Regions from separate parts of the Homo sapiens genome. Here all the other regions are linked to region 1. Evidence: promoter capture Hi-C in 16 types of primary human blood cells and fetal thymus (Javierre and others, 2016). All regions are on one chromosome and are shown on one strand. Each heading gives the region's core, a stretch centred on a gene start or on the middle of the fragment in contact. The rest is flanking DNA. Distances are from core to core; before and after follow the strand shown.

What was found. Contacts are between HindIII fragments. The CHiCAGO score rates a contact against its expected background, and 5 or more counts as called.
Region 2: the fragment with the promoter of MARCHF7 here is called in contact with the fragment with the promoter of TANK in region 1 in 1 of 17 cell types (non-activated CD4 T cells); the score reaches 5.7 in non-activated CD4 T cells.
Region 3: a fragment that was not itself captured here is called in contact with the fragment with the promoter of TANK in region 1 in 1 of 17 cell types (non-activated CD4 T cells); the score reaches 5.4 in non-activated CD4 T cells.

What each region holds. Positions count from the first base shown.
Region 1 is chr2:161,158,995-161,161,946 of GRCh38, reverse strand. TANK (TRAF family member associated NFKB activator) reads right to left here and starts at 1,519. Exons shown (of 8, transcript NM_001199135.3): 1 at 1,461-1,519. TANK-AS1 (TANK antisense RNA 1) reads left to right here and starts at 1,657. Exons shown (of 3, transcript NR_187173.1): 1 at 1,657-1,815; 2 at 2,711-2,782. RefSeq lists an enhancer at 1,046-1,809. The HindIII fragment of the contact is 6,780 bases long and covers 1-2,952 here.
Region 2 is chr2:159,710,994-159,713,945 of GRCh38, reverse strand. MARCHF7 (membrane associated ring-CH-type finger 7) reads right to left here and starts at 1,440. Exons shown (of 12, transcript NM_001282805.2): 1 at 1,340-1,440. It also overlaps a transcript of BAZ2B not described here. RefSeq lists silencers at 842-961, 1,482-1,991 and enhancers at 1,152-1,431, 1,199-1,865. The HindIII fragment of the contact is 3,093 bases long and covers 1,155-2,952 here.
Region 3 is chr2:162,346,647-162,349,598 of GRCh38, reverse strand. GCA (grancalcin) reads right to left here. Exons shown (of 8, transcript NM_012198.5): 2 at 1,857-2,021. Among named protein-coding and RNA genes, the nearest start is that of GCA, 4.0 kb to the right of the region's middle. The HindIII fragment of the contact is 1,249 bases long and covers 888-2,136 here.

The DNA.
Region 1 (2,952 bases), core at 270-2,769:
AAGATTTTAAGAATTTTTGAGTGGGGACTACCTTCTTACCTGAGATAAAAAGCCTGGGCATTTTAAACCAAAGCATTGATAATTCTTGAAAATATTTGCCATATATTTCACAAAGGATTAATGAAATCTGTAGTCTAATGAGAAACAGATAATTTTGAAGAATACTGGGCAATATATACGGACAGGACATAGTAAGTGACAGTTAACTATAATTTGGTACATCTACACAATGCAGTACCACGCCAACATTACAATAAAATAGAGCTACATATGGCAAGACTTTCACCATATATATATATTTAATCTGAAACAGATTATCGAACAGTATGCATAATCTCATTTTCATAAGAAAGCAAAATAACATGGTTATGCACATACAGGAAAGATGTGGAAGGCTTGGATTACAACTGGGGAGAGGACTGAGAAGGATTTCACTTCCTGCTTTGCACATAGTTGTATTATTTGAGGATCCCTCCTCTCTCAAATGAGGACACAATAATTTTTAACAGAATGCACTGCTTGCTTCTCTGCTACCTCTCGTTTGGGTGTGTATTCCAACCGCGGTAAGAAGGCAGGTCATTTTCTTTTCCTTCAATTTCACGTCGCTTCTTCACTTCCTTTACTACCATCTCTCCCTTATTATAACTTGTCAAAAGCATCTCCTGTGAGGTGAGATAAACACCACTTTACATAGCAAGGCTGCTTTACTTTTGCTCGTTATAGCATAACAATAAAGGCACAGCTCTTCTTTGATTATCCTCCCCCTTTCTACTTCTAGAAAAGCACAGCTTTTTTGCCTGTAACTCGTTGCTAGTCAGTTTACACCGGCGTGAGGACTCTACCTAACGCCTGGGTTCCCACTGTGGGCGGGGTTGGCTTCTGTTCTTCCTGCCTTGGCCACCCACTCCCTCCGTGACCCTCTGGGAAGTTACCCAACTTCTCATTGACCAGGCTATGATGACACCCCACAGGAAGGCAGAGGGGAATTGTGCAACCACCTTGGGAAAACAACAGAAAGAACCAATTAAGTTTTCGAAAGAGTAACCACGATACTACTTGATTCTAGGAGGCAGTCTCTCTCCCGAAGGGAAGTCGGGAATGTTCCTGGAGGGTCCACTGCTCACCTCGACACCGCAGGCCCTTCCACCCCCATTTCCCGGGCAAAGCAGCCGGGACGAGTCCCTCCCTTGAAGCCGTTGGGGCAGAGGCCGACGATGCTATGCTGACATCGCGGGCCCGGAAACCAACCCACAAGGAGTCCGCTCCGGGGGAAGGACTCGCGTGGTTTCTCCCGCACAAAATCCCTCCCCAAACTGCAAATTGGTTGTCTCCGCTGCTCCTCGGCTTCTCTCCCTGCGGCGCCCCTACTGTCAGCGCGTCCCTCTCGCTCACGCATACAAATTCTCCGACGTCGTGCTTGACGGATTCGGACACACCAATTCACAAAGTTTCTTACTCACACAGTTCACGCTTTCAGCTGCGTTCCCTCTCCCCTCAGGTCGCCGGCGCCTGGCCGAGTGACTCCAACCGGAAGTTGCATTTTGTTCCAGTTCAGAGGGCAGTGCCTGCGCGCGGAGCCATTAACTCTTCACCTCCACCCAACAAGGCCAGGGCCCTTCCGCCCTGCCCCACCCAGCCCAGGGCTCTTCTGCCCCGCCCCTGCCCGCCCCGCCTAGCGCCCTCCCCCAGCCCTGCCCAGCCAAGTCCCCGCCTCTTAGAAAAAAAAAGCGTCAGCAGCGGAAGAGAATCCTATGTCAAGTGTAAAGGTCACTTGTGAGTCTTTGCTGGATTTTTTTGCCAAACGATAAATAACCGGTAAATAAATAACCAGTAAATAAATAACATCACCCTATATATGAGTTAGAGTACACAAGAATCACCTGAGAAACAAAATGTAGTTTCACCAACCGACTCCTACAGCTTTCATTTCAGAGCAACTGGAGTGAAGCCCAGGAACCTGCATTTTCAACAGATCCTCGTAAATTTATGTAATTAAACGTGGTTAAAGTCCACACTCTGAGAAACACTACATATACACATACCCATTTGGTTTCTCCCCAACTGGTAGTATTTTTCACTAAATGTATTTGTTAAAGAGGAATGGCTGGAAATGGAGGTGGAACTTTATTAGAAAATTTCCCATGAATTAAGACTTTCCCATTATTCCAATTCCTAGCCATGCATGAATATTATCTAAGATTCATATCTTAGATACCGCAAGAAAGATATCTTTTCCCTTTAGGGCAAGAGGATGAGGTCTGGCTGCCCCAATTTCTCCCTGTATTTCTGAATCATGGATGTTTACACATCTTTCCTTAGGCCAGTAAGTCCAAGGATTTAAAAACCTGCCAAGTTGCAGTGCATTCTGTCTAGTTATCTTGAATGTTGCTGTATACTTTTAAAAGTCAAAGCCTAAATATATTTGAAACAATGTTTTTAACAAACAGAAACTTCTTATATATAACGTTTTGACCAGTTGAATAGTTTTCTTGTAATAAGTAATTGAGTTAAACATCACAATACAGTACTGCTTTAAAAAAATTATTTAAACTTTTTTTGAGGGCAGTTTTAGATTCACAGCAAAATGGAAAGGAATGTCCAGAGATTTTCCATATACTTTCTGCCCCGACACAAGCATAGCCCTTCCCCATTATCAACATCCCTCACCCCAGTGTGATGAAAAAAAGCTGTTATAAATATCTGTGTGCAGGTTTTTTTGTGCGGACATAAGTTTTCATCTCCTTTGGATAAATACCAAGTAGTATGATTGCTGGATCATAAGGTAAGAGAATGTTTAGTTTTGTAAGCAATTGCCAAATTGTCTTCCAAAGTGGCTACCATTTTGCATTCCCACCAGGAATGAATAAGAGTTCCTGTTGCTCCAAATCCTTGCCAGCATTTGGTGTTGTAAGTGTTCTGGATTTTGGCCATTCTAATAGATGTGTGTCATAT
Region 2 (2,952 bases), core at 191-2,690, 1.4 Mb after region 1:
GACCCAGCACTAAACTTGGAAAAAAACCAAGACTAGTATTATGTCCCCTAGTGACTGCTTCACACACCACCTCAGCAAATTTAATCCTCTCTAGAAATTAACTGCCATGTTTCTGAGACAATCTCGTGAACTTAAATAACTATGGCAAAAATCAAGACTCAAACCCAGGTCTTCTGAGTCTGGTGCTACTGCCTCATGCACCAGTCCTGTCTCCCAAAATGCTGTAGAGCTGTTAAATAAAAATATTATACTGACCTCATTTCTCAAACAAACTTTTTGCTACCTCAAGTAAAAGATCTAGTTACACTACATGTGTGCCTTCTTAATAACTGTATACTATTGGATTTTTAAATCGAAAATTCATCTTTAATCCTACATCTTGGTTCTGGACAGAAAGGTGGAGATTTAAAATAACATGTAATCAGAAAAATAGCTAATCAATCCTACAAAATGGGGGAGAAAACCTCGCCAAATTTCAGTTTTCACACATTTAACTAATAGTAACAAACAACATTAGTCGTGACGAATTTATTACCCAGATAGACTTTCCCAATATATTTACTTTGGTACTTGAGAAAAAGTATTAAGTGCAGCATTTTGGGGTGAGGGGGTGGACACACATCTTCAATACGCAGTTTCACCAAAATGAGGGAGTTTCCTACTCCCGGCGCCTTCTATATTTTTACTTCTTAGGCCAACAGGTCCATTTTTAATACAATCACCTACTTCGAGTTGCAGAACCCACAATTCACCACAACACAAAAATAACTCTCAGGGCGTCACGATATTCAAAAACTGACGTTACCAATAAGACAATCTTGGCCGAATCTAAGGGGCTACCGAAGTCACTTCGACTCGAGGCCGGGCTGGCCGAGCCGGAGCCCTGCCCGCCTTTGCCCCGCGCTCACCGGCGAGCTCACGCGCGACACCCGCGGCCCGCAGGGCTCCGAAGACCCCCCGCCCCACGGCCCAAGAGGAGGCCGCCCCGCGCCAAAGGAGGGCTCAGGCTTCTTCCCGTCACCCGCCACACGTCCCTGAGGAAGACACACAATCTGTCCCCTGCACCCGCCACAAACTCCACCACCCGACCAAAGGCCCCTGGCAAGGGAGGCCTGCGCTGTGGCCCCTTGGCCCCGGTGGCCCCGGACCAAGCTTCTCCACCTCATCCTGAGAGGAAGCGGCCTCCGCGTCCCCAGGCCTCTTCGTTTCCTCCCCTCCCCCACTCGCGGCCTGGTCCCGAACTAGCGCCCAAGACGGAGAAGAACTAGCTCCGCAGCTCATTACCCCGGCTCCTGAGCCGGCACCGACCAGTGCGCGTCCCACTCGCAGCAACACGCACCGCCGCCTTTCTCCTTGGAGTTCTAGGCCCGTGACTGAGGAAATGCAGTCGGCAGCGAAGCACAATGGCGCCCGCCCCTCTCCCGGATCCGGCGCAGAACCAGCCACCACCGTTAAGTGCCCCTCCCTGCTCCTCCTCCCCCCACTTCGCGGACTTCCTGGCTTCTCGCGAGAGTGGCGGCGCGGCGGGGACCGAGAGCTGCGGGCGGGCTGGAGGTACCCCACCGCGGGGTGGTGCTCTGACTGCGGGAACCGTTGAAGAGCTGCCCCCGGGGAGTCAGCGAGGCGCCACTGGTAAGCGGCAGCGGCTGGCTGGCCGGCGTGCCGGCAGCTGGGCTGGCGAGTGTGCGGGCGCCGGGCGCTGGAGGCCCGGGCCGGGGCGGTCCCCGCCCGTCTATAGTCTCTGAGCCAGCCCCTTCCCTCCCGGGCGCCGGGTCCCCGCCCACAGGCCCACCTGCAGGGCCCCGTGCTCGAAATAACGCCCAGCTGGTTGGCTTTTTTTTTTTTTTTTTTTCTTTTTCTGGCTCTTGGTAAGTGGCGCAGTGAATGTTGAATTGAATCAAGCACTGCCTTTTCCGACCTACCCCTCCCCGCTTGCTTCCCTGCCCGCCCTGTGTGATCTAACTGCAAGCCCTTTCCCTTAAGAGTTGGAGCCTGTTTGTCCAACCTTGTGATCATTTCCTTGTGGTAAGAATCTTGGTAAATGATGGTGATCATGTCTTTTAAAATCGTGATAGTAACCTTTAATAGCGTAGCCATCGATTTTGCAGTAAACAAATTCACCTATTTAGAAAGAGGGAGGAAAATTGTGAGGTGAATGGTCTGGTGAATATTAGATGAAACTTTCAAAGAACTGTAAATGTGGCAAACTAAGATGTAAATGAGTACTAATAAATAAAAGGGAGTAGGTTAGGGAAAAGCTACATCTAACTATGTGTAAATATTTAGATGATATGTTGATTTGGAATAATGAATCAAAAGTTTTTTAATGGAAAAGATCAGTTATTGAAACTTGGAAGAATACTGAAAGGCACTTGATTTTTTTTAATGACCTATTTTGTTAAGGTATTAAAAGCAATCCTTTGGATCCAAATAATTCCAATAAATGAAACACAGTGTTTCTACGTGTTTGTCATTACATCGGAAGGGAATGGAGTATCAGTCACTATCATCCTTATTTTATTGTCTTGGGGACTAACAGACTGTACATGTTTCACTATGATAAATTCTAAAATACTATAAATTTTAAAGACTTAAAGGTATTTTAAGTTGGCATGTAAGTGCCAATCTAACTTTTAGGATATGAAATGAAAATAAGCATCTGGTATGGGATAAAGTGAACAGAGATTACTTTTGAGGAAATTAATTTGCCCTTTAAAGAAAAATAATTCTTTTCCAGCCTGTTCGAGTGCCCCTGCAGCATTGTGGTTATAGATACACGGATGTATACACCCTGAAGAACCAGACTATATGGCTTCAAATTCCACCCCTGCCTCTTACTACCTTTGTTATCTCAAGCAATTCCTTAACCTTGCTAAACCTAGGTTTCCTGTAAAACGGGGTTAATAACAGTACCCATGCTCTGTAGCATTGTTTAGATGAGATAACACGTCA
Region 3 (2,952 bases), core at 263-2,762, 1.2 Mb before region 1:
TATTCCATAACCACAGAAGAGCTTTCAACTTTCCCCCCAAATTGTTAAACAAGTGAATGAAACATATCAAGAAAAAAAAACACACATCTTAAAAAGATGTTCCCAAATGTTTCATTAACACATGCAACTATCTTAGTTCATCACTCTTCTAAGAAGTTTTGTAGACAAAAACACAAATATAGCAGGTGCTGCAATACATGCTGAAGCAGCAGCAAAAAAAAAAAGACAAGCTCATTTATTTCAACAACAGGAGATAAACATCAATACACCCTCTTTTCAATCCTTTAATATATCTGGAATTCATGCTACTATATGGTACAGGCTGAAGATTTACATTTACTTTTAGATAAACTGTTAATTATTTCAGGATAGTTAATTCAGGAATCATTCTTTCCCCACTGATATGAAATGCTACCTCTACCATATACTGAATTCACAGGTAAGCTTCTGGGCTCTTCAGTATTATGTTTGTTTTTACATTAGGACCACACTATCACAATTATTAATAATACATTTATATGATATATTATAATTTAATATTTATTCTCAACAACATAGTATACAAGACAGACTTTAGAATCATTGCAGCAAGTGCCAAAAAGAAAAAAGAAAAAGAAACCTTTAGGAATTTGACTCATATAATATTATATTATTTATCAATTAATTTGGAAGACATTGGCATCTTATAATATTGTATTCCTTCCGATCTTGAATATTTACTCAATACTTCTGTCAAATACAACTAATAACTGATACAAAGGGGTATAATACATATCCTATTTGCTTAATTTTCCTTGAAATTTCACATGAAAAATATATATAAAATCACTTGGAAAAGAATAAACTGTGGTATGGTGTTACAGTTATGTAGGAGTAAAAGAAAAGCTTCCGTTGACCACAGTATTCACATATCATCAGTAACAATTCACCCACAGAATTCATGTACTTGAACTGGCAGTTTCACACGTCCCTATTGGTCATAATAAAGTCAGTCCTTTAAATAATCACTCAAATTTACTGGAAACAAATAACATCCTAAAACCATACCACATCGTAACATACTATTTCCTTTAATTTTTAATTAATAAATCCTGACATGATTATTTTGATAACCTGGAAAATTTACCAGCCATATCAAATCAAAATTACTATAAATGATATAACTTCACCTGTGAAAAAAATGTAATTTCTCAACCTGAATAAATTTACGAGACTCTGAAGTGATTTCCAATCATATTGTTTGACATACTTAGGTTTTAACTGAGTTTTTTTTAAAAAATGGGAGTGAGGCCCAAGTTAGAAATATTGTTCCTTATAATTTTTTAAAGTGCTTCCTACTTTCCTAAAATTTCCAATAGTCATTTTTGCATGCTATAAAAGAATGTGCAGGCTAAACCTACTTAGCTTTGTGTTATCTATCACTCAGGGAGAGTATGATGCTCCTAAATGTCAAACAGAGTGAAGGAAATAAAAAGATTTAAGTGACAGAAAAATTATAACTCATAAGAAGATATATCTAAGTTTTGGTGGGGTGTTTAGTGACTAGTAAGAGGAGCCCCTTGTAGAAGAATTTCAGTAACGCAAGCATACTAGGTAAGAAAGAATCAGATTTCCGCACTATGGAAAACAATGTTTCCTCTTTTAGTCAAATGAACAATGTATCAAGCATCACATCAACAGACTTTTAAAATGAAATAATTATGACTATGCTCATCTCTGATCTCAGGAAAAAAATTAGTCTAGATACATATAAAATATAAATTTCATATACATTTAAAATGATACTCTAAATAGCTGACATTTCTCTTAAACAATAATTTTAAAGACATATTTATGCAATAAATTTAGCATCTCACCTGTCCAGCAACAGCACTGAAGTAAGTATACACGGAGTCACCAGCTGAGGAATAAGTGTCTGAATATGCTGGCCCAGAGTATCCATCGAGGAGTATAGCTGGGCCTGTTTCTGGCACTGGCTGTCCCATCTGCATTCCTGGCACCTGAATGCTAAAATTTCCAAACTATAATAGTGAAAGGGGAGAAGGTTAGTAATATAAATACTACCTATTATCTATGAAAGTTGGATTAAAAGAAATTATTAGAAGTCCGTCAAAAAGTAAACAGTTACCAAAAGCTTATAATCTTATCACAAAAATTTTAACTACAAAATGTTAGATGTCCTACATTAAGACATAATTCAATTCATCAACATATATTACCCAGCATTAAAAGAAGTATAAAAGAAAAAAGAAAGTTACTAGCCTCTAAGAACTTAATCTAAGAGGAACATGTACAATTTTAAAAAATGTTTACCAACATCACTGAAGTAAACAAAAAGTAAAACAATGCAAGATTTTACCTAAAGTAAAACTAAGAAGTAAACCTCAAGACACATACTTAGAAGAATATATGTGTAAATACAATGAAACTTTAAGTGTCAACATTTACAATATGTTGGGTATTGTATTCTTTACAACTATTTAAACTTAAAATAAAAACTTTATATGTCAATATAAAATATGGGAAAAGGGTATATAGTTTTTCAAAAATCTTTTAAGGGGCGGGAAGCAAAATGTTTAAAGAAACTGCTGTGGTTCTGGTAGTATCCTGAGGGATGACATAGAGTTCTGTATGCTGGCCTCCCACTTGTTTCTTTTCAGCCTATTGTGACTTATTACAGTTTATATATGTGGGATTCTCTGATGTTACAGATTATGTGATCTAGTTTTAACTAAAGCCATAACAAAATGGCAATAGTAAAGATTCAAAAACATGCAAAGCAACATGAAAGGCTTGGACATGAAAATATTGTCTAAGCCTTTCCTTACCCACATTATGTAGTAATAATAATAATGATCAATTTTGACTCATTTGAAACTGTCAAGAGGACAACTTGAAATATAAATTTATGTAAACCGTGTTTAGGGATGAACCTTGTTGGCCAGGGGCCCC